Linked DNA regions of Homo sapiens: region 2 is linked to region 1. The links are contacts of gene promoters, found by promoter capture Hi-C in human tissues and cell types (Jung and others, 2019). All regions are on one chromosome and are shown on one strand. Each heading gives the region's core, a stretch centred on a gene start or on the middle of the fragment in contact. The rest is flanking DNA. Distances are from core to core; before and after follow the strand shown.

The links. The method cuts DNA at HindIII sites, captures the fragments that hold promoters and counts their contacts. A contact is called where the count stands out against the background at its distance.
Region 2: a fragment that was not itself captured here is called in contact with the fragment with the promoter of GALNS in region 1 in 1 of the 25 tissues and cell types used here (dorsolateral prefrontal cortex).

Annotation. Positions count from the first base shown.
Region 1 is chr16:88,855,641-88,858,471 of GRCh38, reverse strand. GALNS (galactosamine (N-acetyl)-6-sulfatase) reads left to right here and starts at 1,525. Exons shown (of 14, transcript NM_000512.5): 1 at 1,525-1,714. The coding sequence starts at 1,595. TRAPPC2L (trafficking protein particle complex subunit 2L) reads right to left here and starts at 1,345. Exons shown (of 5, transcript NM_001318525.2): 1 at 1,289-1,345. The coding sequence starts at 1,321. It overlaps LOC107983950 (a long non-coding RNA gene), which reads left to right and starts at 1,892. Exons shown (of 2, transcript XR_933884.3): 1 at 1,892-2,021; 2 at 2,171-2,831. RefSeq lists a silencer at 1,393-1,792. The HindIII fragment of the contact is 6,299 bases long and covers 1-2,831 here.
Region 2 is chr16:89,715,773-89,718,603 of GRCh38, reverse strand. VPS9D1 (VPS9 domain containing 1) reads left to right here. Exons shown (of 15, transcript NM_004913.3): 3 at 1,782-1,874; 4 at 1,980-2,142. It overlaps VPS9D1-AS1 (VPS9D1 antisense RNA 1), which reads right to left. Exons shown (of 4, transcript NR_036480.1): 3 at 1,700-2,133; 4 at 439-1,260. Among named protein-coding and RNA genes, the nearest start is that of VPS9D1, 3.7 kb to the left of the region's middle. The HindIII fragment of the contact is 3,293 bases long and covers 1-2,831 here.

The sequences.
Region 1 (2,831 bases), core at 276-2,775:
GTGGGCACTGCCTTCAGGGGATCCCAGCTAACCTAAGGAGATTTATGTGTTGTTTGCAAAGCAGCAGCAGTAGGGTGGGCGGAAAAGAAAAAATGAATCAGAAAAATGGGCCTGAGCACAGCCTGCCGATCAAGCCTGGCACCTGGGCACGCCTCTCACCTTCTCCTGGAGGCCACTCTGCCTCAGCCCACCTCTAACTCTGCATGGCTCACCCAAATACAGCACCCTCAATACTGGCTTTTCTTCACCTTGACAGTGACCCTTTTACTAAACCCTTCAAGACTCAGCTCAAATTCCCTTCATCTCTGCATTTCTGACCATTGGAAGCCCAGAATTAACAGCTTCTTTCTCGGTCTTTCACACACCACCATTTACCCTGTGTGTGTTCAGCACTGGGTCCTGCACAAATACAGTGAACAAGAGTCCTCGCTACCCTCGTGGGGAGTGATACCTAGTCAATAAACCCACAAACAAGCAAATGATCATCTTGGCCAAGAGGGAAGCCCATGAGCAGCTTAGCAGCAGCCACCGCCCAGCAGGGAGCGGTCTCGAGTCTGGTCTCGGGAGACCCTGGCTAGGAAATGAAGGCTCCGTGCAGCAGGAGCGTGTGGGCAGCCACCCAGCTCAGTCTTAGCCTTCAGAAAATGCTTTCCAGTTGAAATGTATGTGGGCCAGTAAAGAGGATGGGAGCTGGGGAGAGGTGTTCCGCGTGCAAAGGCCCACAGGTGAGAGGGCAGAGCATGTCCAGGGAGCTGCAGAATTGTTTGGTTGGAGCGGAGAGTGCCAAGGGTTATGGGGGGAAAGGATCCCAGAGCAGGTTATTCAGACAGCATCCTAAGGCAACGAGAAGCCACTGCAGAGGTCTCAGGCAGAGGCGTGACAGGATCCGATTTGTTTTTAACTCGGCTCCGGGGAGACTGGCAGGAGGGCCGGGGCCGCCGTCCGCGGGGAACCAGCGCTGGACGGGAGAACGGGCAGAACCTGCTGAGGACGGAGGACGGAGGTAGTGCCCGGGACCACCTAGGTTTCTGGTGGGTCCTGGCGGGGAGGAGACCTGCTGCGCCGAGGGGTGCGTTCAGCAGCGGGACGGGCGAGCGCGGAACTGGGGTCTCAGTCAGGGTCTGCCTGGCGGCTCGTCCACCGCGAAGCCCCTGACCGCTGGAGCTCGGCGAAGGCCTCCTCCAGGTCCCATTTCCTAAGGTGCCTTCTAAGCCCAGGGAAGAAGTAGAAAGAAAGCGGAGAGCCGAGGATGGTGCGAGCCCGGACGCCCCACGCCGCGCGTACGCACCTCCTTGGCAATCACCGCGATGCACACCGCCATCTTGGGAGGCTCGGCGCCAGGCACCGCGTCACGTGACCCGCCGCTGGTCACGCGGCCTCCAAAGCCCCGCCCCATCCGCACACAGCTGGCTCAGGCCCCGCCCCACTGGTCACGAGGCAGTCCAGGCCCCGCCTCCCGTCCCTCCGCGGACTCTGGCCCCGCCCCGCGAGTCACGTGGCCGTCCAGGCCCCGCCCCGCAGCCCAGCCGGAAGGGCCGGCGGACGCTCGCTAGGTCGGCTCGCTGGCCGGGGCTCCGCGGCTCCCGTGGTTGCCATGGCGGCGGTTGTCGCGGCGACGAGGTGGTGGCAGCTGTTGCTGGTGCTCAGCGCCGCGGGGATGGGGGCCTCGGGCGCCCCGCAGCCCCCCAACATCCTGCTCCTGCTCATGGACGACGTGAGTGCGGGCGGTGGGACGGGGCAGGGCCGGGGTGGGGCGGGGAGGGGAGGGGCGGATGGAGGGAGGAGCGAGGTGGGGGAAGGGCGGGCGGGGTGGGGGGAGAGGTGAGGGGAGGCCCCTTGGGGAAGGGGGGAGGCCCCGCGCGGGGAGGAGGAGGGGGAGGGGACGGGGGGTATCCCCGTGCGGGGAGGGGGAGGCCCCTCGGGGAGTGGCCGCGGGGTCCAGGCGTGGGGTCTCGGCGGTCACCGATCACCACACGCGCTGCCACTGTGCTGCATGACCGGGACAGCGTCCTCCCTGGCAGGTGGGTGGCCGGCGTGCTACCGGGCCCTGCCTCCCCCGTCTGACCTTTCCCGCCCTCTACTCTTGGGAAAGGTGGGCGCGCAGCGTGGCCTCCCCAAAGGGAGGAAGAGGCTGCTCCTGCCGCCCTGCCTGAGAGCTGCGTCGCCCTAGGAATCACTCCCGCCACCTCGGGCCGCCGGGTCCCCCCGCTGGGCTCCAGTCTTACCTGACGGCTGTCTCTGTCCTCTGGAGAATGCTGAGCGAAGGTCAGGTGTCCCTAAGGTCTGAAGAACTGAAAGGCTGGAATGTCTCCTGGTGGGCAAGTGCGGGGTCAGGGGTCACAGCCAGCCTGGAGGCCTCCTTCCCTAACTCCTTGTGGGAGCCACCTGGAGACTCAGGAATGAGCCTGCCTGGGGCATGGGTCACCGTGCAGGACCCCAGACACACCTGGGTTGAAACCCTACTGTCTCCAAGCTTGGGGGTCACTTCCATTCTTGAACCTCAGCTGCCACACCTGGGGGGTTACACCTGTCCCGCCGTGCTCACGTTGTGTGTGAGGACTGGGACGACACCGAGTACCAGACAGTTTTGGGCCGTCGGTGTCGCTCAGCCCCTGTGTGCTGGCTCCGACCAGCAGAGACCCTGACAGGTGCCTTCAGACCCACCTGTGCTGACCAGTGGGGGCCACGGGCCACACCCAAGGGCTGGGCAGTCGTGGCTGTCGGAATTGGAAGGTGCTGGTAGTGTAAAATACACAGATTTAGAAGACTTGGTGAAAGAAAAATAATGTAAAATATCTCACTTAACAATTTTATTAAATTAATGGTTTTTT
Region 2 (2,831 bases), core at 231-2,730, 860 kb before region 1:
CTAGCCTGACCATTTGTAGTAGGTGGACCAGCCCACACTCAGTGTGATATAGTGGCAGGAAGGGACCAGCGTTGTGGATAAGAAGATGGAGACTGGGGTGTGGCAAGACACTGGCTCCAGTGAGCGGCACAGACGTGGGGCAGCATTCCAGCTGTGGGGTGTGCAAAGGCCCTGAAATAGGAGTGGGCGGGGTGGGGCTGTGTGCATGCCTTGGGTGGAACTGGGGCCGTTCTGGTGTGCAGGGAAACTTGAAGAGACTTTGAGCTTTGAGGGAGAGGACAGCCTGGGAGTGGAGCCTCAGGTGAGGACTGAGGATGGCAGTGGCCAGACCACCCAGGATGGGAGCAGTAAACGGCCTCGGGGTGCGTCCTGAAGGTGGAACAGAGCAGACTTGCAGGAGGCAGATGGGGCAGGAGCAAACTGGCAAGGAGAGGAATAGCAAGTTCCGCAATGAACACATTAAGTTTGAGAGGCCAGCAGCCGCTGCACAAAGGATCACAGAGGTCAGGGGGAGCCACTGGACATAGAGCACAGAGGTCAGGGGGAGCCACTGGACGTGGGATCACAGAGGTCAGGGGGACCCACTGGACGTGGGAGCACAGAGGTCGGGGGAGCCACTGGACGTGGGAGCACAGAGGTCGGGGGAGCCACTGGACGTGGGAGCACAGAGGTCGGGGGAGCCACTGGACGTGGGATCACAGAGGTCGGGGGAGCCCCTGGACGTGGGATCACAGAGGTCGGGGCAGCCACTGGACGTAGGATCACACAGGTCAGGGGGAGCTAACAGTTGCCCCAGCTCCCTAGGGAGCCGGTGAGCTCGGCTGAGCTCTGGCGCTCCAAGATTGAGGAGTTGGGTGGAGGAGTGGCAGAGGATCCCCTGGGGAGAGCAAAGTCCCAGAAGACAGAGGAACTCCAGTGGCCCACCGTGTCTGGCAAGGTGGGGACGGGTAAGGGCAGTTTCCGGGGGGAGTCGGGGGCTAAATCGGGGCGGGATGAGAAAATGGGAGTCTATGAGAAGTTTTCTGTGAAGGGCAGCAGGGAGGTGGGTCAGGCGCTGGGGCGGTGGGTCCAGGGGCGAGTCACAGAGAGGCAGCTCCCACGGCGCGCAGAAGGGCTGTGTGAGCAGGTCCATGGTCGCGCAGAGGTGCTCCATGCCAAGCTACGGGAAGGCAGGACTTTGGGGACACAGCCGGTGGGAGATGGGTGAGGCGATCCCCTCAGCACGTCCTTGTCTCTGTAAAACGGCCACTTCCCAGAGGCCTGCAGTTGCAAGTGAAGCTGAGTGAGCACTAAAGGCCTGTTTAGGGTCGAGGCTGTGACGGGCCTCGATGAGGGGCCCACAGCCTTAGCAGACTCAGGAGGCAAAACCAGGGCAGATGATTAGAAATGCGTGGGTGGGGGGACTTGCCTGGGGTCCATGGTGGGGGCAGGGGCCTTGCCTGGGGTCCATGAGGAATAGTCGGCTTGCCCGGGGTCAGTGGGGGGTGGAAGGGGCAGTGGGCTTACCCGGGGTGAGGGGATGGGGGGGCAGTGGGCTTGCCTAGGGTCAGTCAGTTGGGGGACGGGAGGGGCAGTGGGCTTACCCGGGGTGAGGGGATGGGGGGGCAGTGGGCTTGCCCAGGGTCAGTGAGGGGATGGGGGGGCAGTGGGCTTGCCCGGGGTCAGTGGGGGTGCTGAGGGGGGCAGTGGGCTTGCCTGCCTTTTCCGTTGCCTCATTTTATCTCAGCAGTAAGTAACAGTGGTAGAGCCGACTGTGACCAGCCTTCTTGTCCCTCCCCCAGAAGCTGGGGAAACTGTGCCCCCCGACACCTCCAAGATGCTGAAGCTAGCACAGCAGTGTCTGGAGAGGGCCCAGTCGACGGCCGCCAAGCTTGGTGGGTCTCCTGCAGTAGGCGGCTCTCCTGGGGCATCCCCCAAGCCCGCATCTCCTCTGTGGGATGTGGCCCACCGCTTGACCCCTGGTTACCCATGGCTTGCAGGGAAAACACGCCTGAAGCCAACCATGCCTGCAGCTGCTCCCATTCCCCAGCCTGCCGGCCGACACCGCCGTGTATACTCCGATGAAGGAGGAAAGCTCTCTCCTTTTCTGCCACCCGAGATCTTCCAGAAGCTTCAGGGGGCAGAGTCACAAAGCTGTAAGAAGTAAGATGGACAAGATGGGAGGTGGGATGAGCCTGGGATTGGGTTTTTGAGGCTGAGAAAGATGAGCTGATGACAGCGATTTTTTTTTTGTTTTTTGAGACAGAGTCTCACTCTGTCACCCAGGCTGGAGTGCAGCGGCTCAATCTTGGCTCACGGCAACCTCCACCTCCCGGGTTCACACCATTCTTCTGCCTCAGCCTCCCAAGTAGCTGAGACTACAGGCGCCCACCACCACACCCAGCTAATTTTTTGTATTTTTAGTAGAGACGGGGTTTTGCCATGTTAGCCAGGATGGTTTCGATCTCCTGACCTCGTGATGCGCCTGCCTCGGCCTCCCACAGTGCTGGGATTACAGCGTGAGTCACCGCGCCCGGCCCCCACAGTGCTGGGATTACAGGCATGAGCCACTGCGCCTGGCCTGACAGCGAATGTTTTTAAAATGAGTCCCAGAATGGGAATATCCCCTGGCCGGACACAAGCAAATGCAGGCGGCCTGGTGGCTCACGCCTGTAATCCCAGCACTGTAGGAGGCCGAGGCGAGCAGATCACCTGAGGTCAGGAGTTCCTGACCAGCCTGGCCAACATGGTAAAACCCCGTCTTTACTAAAAATACAAAAATTAGCTGGCCGTGGTGGTGTGCACCTGTAATCCCAGCTACTCAGGAGGCTGAGTCCAGGAGAATCGCTTGA